Linked DNA regions of Homo sapiens: regions 2 and 3 are each linked to region 1. Evidence: promoter capture Hi-C in 16 types of primary human blood cells and fetal thymus (Javierre and others, 2016). All regions are on one chromosome and are shown on one strand. Each heading gives the region's core, a stretch centred on a gene start or on the middle of the fragment in contact. The rest is flanking DNA. Distances are from core to core; before and after follow the strand shown. Region 1 holds the start of VPS35L (VPS35 endosomal protein sorting factor like). Region 2 overlaps RBBP6 (RB binding protein 6, ubiquitin ligase). Region 3 overlaps MARF1 (meiosis regulator and mRNA stability factor 1).

The links. The method cuts DNA at HindIII sites, captures the fragments that hold promoters and counts their contacts. A CHiCAGO score of 5 or more calls a contact.
Region 2: a fragment that was not itself captured here is called in contact with the fragment with the promoter of VPS35L in region 1 in 1 of 17 cell types (fetal thymus); the score reaches 5.3 in fetal thymus.
Region 3: a fragment that was not itself captured here is called in contact with the fragment with the promoter of VPS35L in region 1 in 1 of 17 cell types (fetal thymus); the score reaches 10.7 in fetal thymus.

The regions. Positions count from the first base shown.
Region 1 is chr16:19,553,499-19,557,344 of GRCh38, reverse strand. VPS35L (VPS35 endosomal protein sorting factor like) reads right to left here and starts at 1,642. Exons shown (of 31, transcript NM_020314.7): 1 at 1,599-1,642. The coding sequence starts at 1,615. RefSeq lists enhancers at 958-1,187, 1,046-2,008, 1,568-2,047. The HindIII fragment of the contact is 7,423 bases long and covers 861-3,846 here.
Region 2 is chr16:24,541,642-24,545,487 of GRCh38, reverse strand. The region is part of intron 1 of RBBP6 (RB binding protein 6, ubiquitin ligase); the gene reads right to left. Among named protein-coding and RNA genes, the nearest start is that of RBBP6, 4.0 kb to the right of the region's middle. The HindIII fragment of the contact is 1,332 bases long and covers 1,208-2,539 here.
Region 3 is chr16:15,637,418-15,641,263 of GRCh38, reverse strand. MARF1 (meiosis regulator and mRNA stability factor 1) reads left to right here. Exons shown (of 27, transcript NM_014647.4): 2 at 1,973-2,174. The coding sequence starts at 2,031. Among named protein-coding and RNA genes, the nearest start is that of MARF1, 3.8 kb to the left of the region's middle. The HindIII fragment of the contact is 6,127 bases long and covers 1-3,846 here.

The DNA of each region.
Region 1 (3,846 bases), core at 393-2,892:
TAAAAGCGTTATGGCACCTGTTTGCCTGCTTGTAATATAAAATTAAAATTCCAAAGGTAGAAATGTACTGGGATGCAGAGATTAAGACAGCATCTTCCTGGATTTTCTGATTGCAAACTTCAGATAAATCCACTGAAGTCAAATGTTTCTCATGTTTTTGGTTAGCTTTTTGGTCAAGCCAGCATGACTTTTTCATTTTTTATTATTATTTTTTTGAGACAGAGTCTCACTGTTGCCCAGGCTGGAGTGCAGTGGCATGATCTCGGTTCACTCCAGCTTCCGCCTCCCAGGTTCAAGCGACTCTCCTGCCTCACCCTCCCAAGTAGCTGGGATTACAGGTGCGTGCCACCACTAATTTAGCCCAGCTAATTTTTGTATTTTTAGTAGAGATTAGGTTTCGCCATGTTGGCCAGGCTGGTCTCGAACCCCTGACCTCAGGTGATCCGCCAGCCTCGGCCTCCCAAAGTGCTGGGATTACAGGCGTGAGCCACCATACCCAGCCAGCATGACTATTAACTGAAAAAAAAAAAAAAACCTCAGGGTGTGGAAGTGCTCAGAGGCATTCAATGCTGATGTAGCGTGTCAAGGAAGCAGTCTCTTAAGTGTTGGGCAAATGAAAGGAATAAGACAAAATGAAGTGTTTATCAAGCTCAAAAGCAGAAGGTTGTACCTGATTATTTCTAAGGTCTTTCATTTGCTCATTTAATCTAAGCTACTTCACATCATTTGAAGAGAAAGTAAATTATCTCGCTTTCTGAGATGCAGGAGAGATTCCCCGTCCCCAAATCCCACTATCATCAACAACACAACTTCCTCAAGTTCTTCACTCACACACATACCACCTGCTGAACCCTGAAGCTTCAGTCACTCATTCCTAGCTACTCCAACCACAAGGGACCTACGGGCCTGCCAACCAGGCACACGCCACGCCCTCCCTATGGTGGACTCCTATTCATCCTCCAAGACCCAATTTAACTCCTCCTCTCTGAAGCCTTCCCCTAGCCCCCTGGTGGGGATAATCACTCCCTTCTTGGTGCCTCATCCGAATGCCTTCTTTAGACATCCCTCTACTGTGCGTCTGCCCCATTATACTGTCAGCTCCTTGAGGCCAAGGAATAAGTCTGAGGGCTGTGCCTAGGATAGGATGAATGGCGGCCATTTTACAGATGAGAAAAGCAAGTCTCCAGGTGAACAGAGGAGCTGAGGAAACTGACCAACAGCCAGATCTCCCGACTCGTCCAGACTTTAAAAGCTGAGTCCACCATTACCCTCATCCAGCGACCCCAGAACCCGCGCCAACTTCTGGGGACGCGGAAGCCTGGAAACTCAAGTTTTCTTTAGGGAATGAATGGACAGGGGCCCGTGGAAGGCGCAGAGAGGCAGCAGACGGGGAGAGAACCAAGAACCCGCCAGTCTGGCTTCAGATTGCTCCGCTGGACCGCGGTAGCGGCCAGGGATTCTACGGTCAAGACAACTTGGGGGTGGCCGGTCGACCACCAGAACCCGACAGAGAGGAATTCACACTCTCAGACCCAGGCCGACCCCATCACAAGTAAGGACAGCCCCTCTCCAAAGCCCACCCGCCGCTGCTTCCTTACCAAGGAAAGACGGCCATCTTCCCAGTCACATGACCGCTTGTTCTGGGGCCGTCTGCTCGGCTTCCCATCCTTACCCCGCCACTCCCCGCACCCCTCGGCCGCCATGTTTGTGAAGGGCAGCTGGCCGCCCCGCAGCGGCCGCACAGCACCTTCTGCAGACGCCATGCTTGTGAGGGGCAGGCGACGCTCCGCACAGCACAGGCTTCATTTTCAGCTGACGCCATGCTTGTGAGGGGCAGCTCCCCGCTCCGGACAGCCCGGGTTACAACTCCCGCCGGCGCCATGCTTCGGAGGAGCAACGTCGGCCACGGCCAGAGTGCCGTAGTTTCTATGAGTCATGATTGTAAAGGGCAGCTGTCTACAGTGCCGGGTGGTCCCGCCTGCGGGCGTCATGATGGTAAAGGGCATGACTGCTGCTTAGCTCACCTGCGTCCTCTAGGGGCAGAAAGGACTCCAGAAGGCGGCGGAGCGAAGACGCAAACTGAGGTTCAGCCAGTACCTGGTTTTGCGGCTAATACGCTGTTTGGCGTGGGACAGCCATGCCCCCTCTAGGCCGCTGCTTTACCCACTGCTTTGCGGGCGGTTTTAGACACTTGCAGAATGCCCTTCCCACGACTAGCAACCGAGGGCTGCCCTAGATCTAATATGATTGACTACAGCTAATGCACGTGGGGAAATTAGGGTTCGCATTTCGTCCAACTTGGCAAAGCAGTGTTTCTAGGAAGGTGGATATCCATTTCGACCACAGAACGTTTTTAAAAATTATTTTAGGCCGGGAGCGGTGGCTCAGGCCTATGATCCCAGAACTTCGGGAGGCCGAGGTGGGTGGTTCACCTGATGTCAGGAGTTCGGGACCAGCCTGGCCAACATGGTGAAACCCCGTCTCTACTAAAAAATACAAAAACTAGTTGGGTATGGTGGCGGGCGCCTGTAATCCCAGCTACTCGGGAGGCTGAGGCAGGAGAATTGCTCCAACCCGGGAGGATGAGGTTGCAGTGAGCCGAGATTGCGCCATTGCACTCCAGCCTGGGCTACAAGAGCGAAACTCCATCTCAAAAAAAAATTTTTTTTTTAATTATTACTTTTATAACTTACTTAGATATCCATTATGGTCCCTTAGAGAGAAAGCATTCGATGTTTTTATAACTCTTACTTTTCATTCGGGGGTGGTGGTCTGTGGTTGTTCATGAGATGGTGACCTATGACAGGGAAAAGGATCATCTCCAGAACGGGCCCTCCAGTGTTCAGCTCAGTATGAGTAGGAAAGTATATCCACTCGTACCTGCTATTCCCAACACTGGAAGTGAACAAGGGTTAAAGGGTGGCCACGGGAAAGCAAGGAGCTCTTCCCATACAGCCATGCATGTTATCACATGCAACATCTCAATAAGAGGTCAAGGTGAGGAGCCTTTTCCTAGGCTCACACTGCATGATTAGGCAGTAACAAGAGGAGGATTCTTAAAGTTGTGCAAATTAACAGCTTTGATGTGAGCTTCAACCTTCGCATTCTCTTTTCTCCCTCTCCTTCCCTTAGCAGGCTTCTATCTCTTAATAAGTTAAGACATTTCCAGCCTGAGTTTTACCTTCTGAAAAGTCCAACTTTTAGTAGAGACGGGGTTTCACTATGTTGGCCAGGCTGGTCTCAAACTCCTGACCTCAGGTGATCCTCCCGCCTTGGCCTCCCAAAGTGTTGGGATTACAGGCGTGAGCCACTGCACCTGGCCCAGGGGACATATTAAATAATGAGATATATCTTTCATGGAACTTGTAAAGAATGATTATATACAATATTTGTTTTGGCCTAATACTTTTCAATATCTGTTTCTTTTTTCTTTTTTGTTTTGGAGACAAAGTCTCATTCAGGCTGGAGTGCAGTGGTGCGATTATAGCTCACTGCCACCTGTAACTCCTGGGTTCAAGTGATCCTCCTGCCTCAGCCTCCAGCGTACCTAGGACTACAGATGTGAACCACCATGCCTGGCTAATATCGGTTTCTTTTTTGTTTTGTTTTGAGATGGAGTCTTGCTCTGTCACCCAGGCTGCAGTGCAGTGGCACAATCTCGGCTCACTATAGCCTCCCCATCCCAGGCTCAGGCGATTCTCCTGCTTCAGCCTCCCAAGTAGCTGGAACTACAGGCATGCACCACTACGCCCAGCTAATTTTGTATTTTTAGTAGAGACGGGGTTTCACCATGTTAGCCAGGCTGATCTCAAACTCCTGATCTCATGATCCACCCACCTTGGCCTC
Region 2 (3,846 bases), core at 624-3,123, 5.0 Mb before region 1:
CAGAAAGGTATAGACCATACACTGATTTATATTTTGTTTTGAAGTGCAACAGGAAGACACTGAAGGATTTTAAGCAAAGTGATTATTTGCTTTTTGTTAAAGAAAAAAAGACTACTGGCCAGGCGCGGTGGTTCACGCCTGTAATACCAGCATTTTGGGAGGCTGAGGGGGGCGGATCACGAGGTCAGGAGATTAAGACCATCCTGGCTAACACGGTGAAACCCCATCTCTACTAAAAATACAAAAAAATTAGGAAGGTTTGGTGGTGGGCGCCTGTAGTCCCAGCTACTCAGGAGGCTGAGGCAGGAGAATGGCATGAACCTGGGAGGCTGCAGTGAGCCGAGATCGCGCCACTGCACTCCAGCCTGGTGACAGAGCAAGACTCTGTCTCAAAAAAAGACTACTGTGGCACCAATGTGGAGCACAAACTGTAGGAGAACAAGAGTAGAAACCAGGGGACTAATAACCAGGCTGCTAAAAAATCCAGGTAGAGATAATGACGACCTGTGTTATGATGTGAGAAATAAAGACAGAATGTTTGCAGGTAGGATTGACAAAGCTTGCTGATGGACCGAATATGGGGGAGATGAAGGAAATGAAGAAGAAAGAGGAATCAGGCCAGAGGAATCCCTGGGTTCCTGGCTTCAGTCATCGGATAAACAGTGATGTCACCTTCTGGGAAAACCAAGAGGGAGAAGAATGGATCCTATTTTTACACTCCTTGGGCTATTTGCAATACTTGTATAAGAATGAAATTAAGAAAATGGACCTTAACTATGGTAAAAAGATTTGCTACAGAAAGAATCTGTAAAATTACCAAAAAGAAAAATTACCTAGAGATGCAAAAATGTATCCATCTCCTTTAATCACACAACCAGGCCTTTTTATTGTCATTAAGTTTACTTGCTTCACTTAAAGTTACTCTGCACAAAGTGACTATCTCTGTTCTTCCGATTATTACGCTTACCACATATGTAGGCATATTCGGCTTTTAATGTATATTAATTATTTTTAGTCATAATGCTAATAGTATTGTTAGAAATGAAATTGTTCAGGCAAGGGTTATTTTCTATATACTTCAAGTAGAAGGCACTATCTCACAGGCATTCAATTAGAGGTAGGCAATTTCCTAGATTTAGGCATGCCAATGTAGGACTATAATCTTTATCTTGGACAGTTCATGATAGCCCCAAATTCCGAGGAAGCTTTGAGTCAGAAAAACTGAGAGCATGGGGTGACTAGATTTTTTTAAAAGTTAATTCTAGAAATAAAACTTTGTGTCAAACACCTGACAGGAAGTTTCTGAATATGTAACAACTCAATGCACTCACAAGAGCTTTCCAAGACAGCTTATTAATTTGATTAGCACCGTACTGTGTCAAACTAAAAGGTGCCTCAATGCCCTTCAAAACAGATGTTCTAACTGACTTTTTAAATACCTGAATTACAATGATTTCTTACCCCTCAAAGTATCTTTCTAGGGGTAATAAAGACACTTTGGGGGTATTTCATTTAAAATACCTCCTTAACAAGTAGTCTGTTGGCTTCAAAAGACCCTTTCTGCTTGCCAGTTTTTTTGACCCCAGACATGAAAGGCATGGATGAAATGAAAAACAGAATGAATCCGAGAAATGGAGAGTAAGAAAGGTGACAAGGGTCATTTATAAACACTTCATATTCAGCTTCCAAACCTCTCACACTTTAATTTCAGAACGAAGGATGTTTTGTTTTTTAGGGGTCGGTGTGCAGAAAAGTTTCTCATATATAACAAAGATTACTTGATATTCATTTTGAAATACAGTCTAGAAACAAGCAGGATTCTTGTCTAAAATCCATGGAATTCTGACCCAAGCGTTTCAGTCTTATCAAGATTTAAGGGTCCTATGCCAGGCACAGTGGCTCAAGCCTATAATCCCAGCACTTTGGGATGGCCTTGGGAGGCCAAGGCAGGAGAACACTTGGGCTCAGGAGACCAGCCTGGGCAACATGGCAAAATCCCCATCTCTACCAAAATAAAATAAAAAAAAATTACAATAAATTAGCCAGGCATGGTGGTGTGTGGCTGTAGTCCAGCTACTTGGGAGGCTGAGGTGGGAGGATCACCTGGGCCTGGTAGGTTGAAGCTGCAATGAGCCAAAATTGTGCCATTATACTCTAGCCTGTGAGGATGTGTCTCCAAAAAAAAAAAAAAAAAAGATTTAAGGGACCTAAACATGCACATAATTCCAAAACTGTAAGGAAATGTTTTACAGAAACATGGTAGATTAGGGATTTTAAAATTATAAGAATGAAATTAAGAAACTGGACCTTAACTGTGATAAAAAGATTACCATAGTTTTCTTTAGTAAATATGTTGAATATCGGTGCTAAAACCAAATGGCATTCTACTCAACTGCCTTGTGACATTGGATACTATTTCCCATAAAACTAGTTAAGTAGCTACCATCAATATCTCTTTCTCTCTTAATTTGAGGACTGCATAAAATACACATTTTCTCCCTCAAAGCTCCCTTTTCTTAACAAACCGAACATCAAAGCTTTCTCCAATAAAGGGCAGTTCACATAAATATAAAAAAGAAAATGTGCTGGGCAAAAACACATTCCTGGCTTTCTGGGTTTGAATTACGTATCATTTATTTCCTGGGCTAGGAAAAAAAAATTGGTTACACAAAGTCACAAAACTCTTAAATTTCCGGACAGGATTCTTTTAACTATAACTTACCCAGTCTAAAGTTGCATTCACATGCCTGTAATCCCAGCCCTTTGGGAGACCCAGGTGGGTGGATCACTTGAGGCCAAGAGTTCGAGACCAGCCTGGCCAGCAAGACAAAACCCCATCTCTACTAAAAATACAAAAAAAAATTAGCTGGGTGTAGTGGCGCATGCCTGTAGTCCCAGCTACTTGGGAGGCTGAGGCATGAGAATCGCTCAAACCAGGGAGGCGGAGGTTGCAGTGAGCTAAGATGGTGCCACTGCACTCCAGCCTGGGTGACAGAGTGAGACTCTGTTTCAGGGGAAAAAAAAAAAAAAAGCTGCATTCAATTGTTGGGTCGAAAAGATGGATAACGCCTAGCCCTAATGATTCGATTGTGTAATACTCCAGTAAAATATGAAACCTGAATATATGACGATTAAAATTGCCTTAATATCCTTTAATTCCATTCATATTGTCTCTCCTCTCATTCATAAATACTCAATATGTCAAGATGGCCCAAACTTCTTATAAACCCATCTGTTCTGTGAAATGTGACTGTTGTAGTTAAGGGATGCTTGTGAGGCACTTAAATAAAGCTATTTCTCAACTGTTCATGACCACCACCAGTTTTTCCTCTCCTTAGGCAGAGGATTACACATAGCTCCAATTATCAAAGGGTATGACACTTGTTTTTAAAAGGTGGGGAAGCAGACAGTATTTTCACATAATATCATTTGAGCAAATAAATTCTTCCTTAATATTTTTGAGTCATGATATGCCAGCACTGCTGTTCCTTAACCTAATACAATTATACTTAGGTCTGCATTGTAAATGGAAAACTGGTCTTCTACATGACAAGATTTACTCTACCTAAACTACAGGCTGGAGGTGGGGGACCTCCCATTTCAACTAAAAGAATCCATGTCACACCTTAAGTGTGATAAAAATTTAGTGACTAAAAAAATACCCTAACCTAATTGTAACTTCACTTCTTCTCATTCCATCAGTAACTTTTAGAACACCGAACTGCTAAAAAATACACATCAGCATTACTGATCTGAGAAAAAGAAACCAAAACAAGTTCAGAGTCAGGAAAGACTGCTTGTCACATTTATCTACTGTTAAGTTCCCAATATTATCAAAATACTTTT
Region 3 (3,846 bases), core at 686-3,185, 3.9 Mb after region 1:
GTATTTACAGAGTAGGGAGCATTTTGGTTGGCACAAGAGATACAGTGGTGAAAATAGACAGTGGGGTTCATTTATCTAATTTTTTTTTTCTCTGTAATGCAGTGGCGGGGAGAAATTAGCCACATTTTGCATAGGAGGAAACAGAAACTTGAAAACAAAAATTTTTTTAGAGATGGAATCTCACTCTGTTGCCCACGCTGAAGGGCCAGTGGCACAATATAGTTCACTGTAGCCTCAAATTCTTGGGCTCAAGAGATCCTCCTACCTCAGTCTCTCTAGTAGCTGGGACTAGGCGCATGCTGCCACACTATGCTAATTTTTTGAACTTTATTTTATTTTAGAGCTGTGATCTTGCTATATTGCCCAGGCTGACAAAAGAGCCACGTAGTAAATATAGGCTTTGTGGGCCATACAGTCTCTTTGCAGAGACTCTCTTTGCAACTCTGCAATTGGAATGCAAAAGCAGTCATAGGCAGTATTTAAGTGAATGAGTGTGTCTGTGTCCCAATTAAACTTTATTTATGGACACTGACATTTTAATTTCATGTAATTTTGTTTGTTGGTTTTTGAGACAGGGTCTCACTCCGTCGCCCAGGCTGCAGTGCAGTGGTGCAATCACAGCTCACTGCAGCCTTGACTACGCAGTCTTAGGTGATTCTTCCACCATAGCCTCCTGAGTAGATGGGGCTACAGGCATGCACCACCACGCTCAGCTAATTTTTTGTAGCCATGGGGTTTTGCCATGTTGCCCAGGCTGGTTGGGAACTCCTGGGCTCAAGCAATCCACCCACCTTGGCCTCCCAAAGTGCTGGGATTGCAGGCCTGAGCCACGGTGCCTCGCTTGCATTTATTGTTAAGACCTGTAAGAGTGTTGTTGCTCTGGCGTAGATATAACACATCTGCGACTTGAGATTTTTCTATCAGTTAGATTTTTGGTGGTATATCAGATTGCACTTTCATCATTAGTAAACTAAGAAATTGGTTCAATTTGTTCTGTAGCAAATCAAATTCAAAGTCCACAGAGGCCACTTAGTTTGGACTTTTCATGCTCAGATCAAGAAACCAGTGCAAGAAGTTGCTCTTAAGTCAATTTTAAAATCTTACATATAGTTGTCAATGAGGATGTGGTGGTGGCTCTTTTACTCAGATTAGATGCTCTCTTCTGTTAACTTTTGACTTTCCTGAGCAGCATCTTTAGGGAGAGAGAGCCGAAAAGAATTCAGAAAAACTGTAGAAAAAATTGATTCCAGCCAAGTGAGGAGGTGAAGTCTCACTCTGGAATATGCAAGTTTCCAAGATATGGCTACCTCTCTCAAACATGGTTACATGTGGAAAGGAAACAAGACTCATGGAGAGTTCATTTTTTATTTGAAGAGCTATGAAACATGAAGAATGGCAGATTATAGATTTTTTAAGAAATCAGGTTGTTGCAGTTAGATTTTAAGCATAAACAGTCAACCAAGTTTACCAAATTTTATTAACCCGTAATATGCTCTGATATTTTGTGTTTTTTTCTTTCTTTATTTTATTATTATTATTTTGTTTGTTAAGATTTGAATTGTTGGCCGGGCGCAGTGGCTAATGCCTGTAATCCCAGCACTTTGGGAGGCCGAGGAGGGTGGATCACTTGAGGTCAGGAGTTCAAGACCAGCCTGGCCAACTTGGTGAAACCCCATCTCTACTAAAAATATAAAAATTAGCCAGGCATAGTGACAGGCTCCTGTAGTCCCAGCTACTCTGGAGGCTGAGGCAGAAAAATCGCTTGAACCCGGGAGACGGAGGTTGCAGTGAGCTGAGATCGTACCACTGCATGCCAGCCTGGGCGACAGAGCGAGACTTCCTCTTGAAACAAAGATTTGAATTGTTGAGAGCCATAGGACTGTAAATATAGCTGTGGTTTCACATTTTAGTATGTTGTAAAATTTGTACTTATGCAAGGAAATAACACTGAAATCTTACTCATTCTTAACAGGGTGGAAGAATGAAAGAAAAGAAAGATGAAAGGATGTTGAATCACTTTGCATGGCTGTATGATGGAAGGAAACGGAACTGAGAACTCCTGCAGTAGAACACGTGGATGGCTTCAACAAGATAATGATGCTAAGCCATGGCTTTGGAAATTCTCTAATTGCTTTTCTCGTCCTGAGCAGACGCTGCCACATAGTCCCCAAACGGTAACTATATGCAAGACTAAGGATGTAGCAGATTCCTCATCCAAATAGATGAGAGAGGTCCATTTGGTCTGGGATACAGTCTCTCATCCTAGAGTCTGTGCCACATTTTTCTGTAGATCTTGCCTGTATTGCCTCTTATACCACATTATAATGTGAGAGCACAGCACAATTTTTTAACTCTTCTATTTCACTTTGAGTAACAGTAGATGCCTTGAATATTTAATGTTAAAATTTGGGAAAGATTTCTTCCTCATTAAAGTCACAGGTAACAAAGATTAAAAATCCACATTGTGGAGTAAAATCAGAGGAAAATACAAAATATGTTGTATTTTACTGTAGCCCTCTTGAGTTTTGAGTCTATAATCTAGGAAGGGTTGGGAAGAGCTTATCCACTGCCTGTTTTTTATTTCGAGATTTCTCTTGAATATTTACTTCTCAGTATACATTTATGTCTCTAACTTCTTGCTTACTCATTGTGATTTTGACATTTTCTTTTTTTTTTTTGAGGTGCAGTCTTGCTCTGTGGCCCAGGCTGGAGTGCAGTGGTGCGATCTCGGCTCATTGCAACCTCTGCCTCCCAGGTTTAAGCAGTTCTCCTGCCTCAGCCTCCTCAGTAGCTGGGATTACAGGCCTGTGCTGCCATGCCTGGCTAATTTTTGTATTTTTAGTGGAGACGAGGTTTCGCCATGTTGGCCAGGCTGGTCTTGACCTCCTGACCTCAAGTGATCCTCCCGCCTCAGCCTCCCAAAGTGCTGGGATTACAGGCGTGAGCCACCGCGTCCAGCCAATTTTGACATTTCCTGACTTCATGCACTCATGTTACCACCTTTCTATTTCTTATTTTCTATTGTATGTGGGATTCAAGTGAGACTGTAATATAATTTTATATAAGGGTATTAACAACTTTTATTTGATTTTATTTTTTGAGACAGAGTCTCGGCTCAGCCCCCTAGGCTGGAGTGCAGTGGCACGATCCGGGTTCACTGCAACCACTGTCCCTAGTTCAAGGGATTCTCCCGTCTCAGCCTCCCTAGTAGCTGGGTTTACAGGCACTCGCCATTATGCCTGGCTAATTTTTGTATTTTAGTAGAGATGGGGTTTCACCGTGTTGGCCAGGCTGGTCTTGAACTTCTGACCTTAGGTGATCCACCCGCCTCGGCCTCCCAAGTGCTAGGATTACAGGCGTGAGCCACCGCGCCTGGCCGGGTATTAATAACTTTTTAAAAACCAGTTTAATTCTCTATTTTCTCTAGGTTTTCACTATATAGTTGTCTTTGTTGCAAGACATCAAGTAATTTGGGTCATTTTAGGAGTGTTTTATTTTAGAGACAGTTGACAGTGAGGGTTGGCATCAAAAGCAAGGCTTCCTGGGATGGGGTGGTAGATCTGGTCCTCATGGAGTCACACAATTCAGAATTACACGGTCAACTTTACAGATCTTGAAACTCAATTTTGTCAGTGGCATGCAGAATGGAGTAGGTTCAGGGGATCAACTCATAGTAAGCCTGCCTGTATGAGCCTGATCTGTATAAATCAGAATACCAGTGTGTTAATTTCAGTCTGAACTATAATTACCAAGAGGGCAGTTCATTGGCTGGTCAGCCCGTTGCTGTTATCTCCCTTTTAGGGAAAGTTTAGCTGAAAATTCACATTTCTTCCAGATGAGCCTATG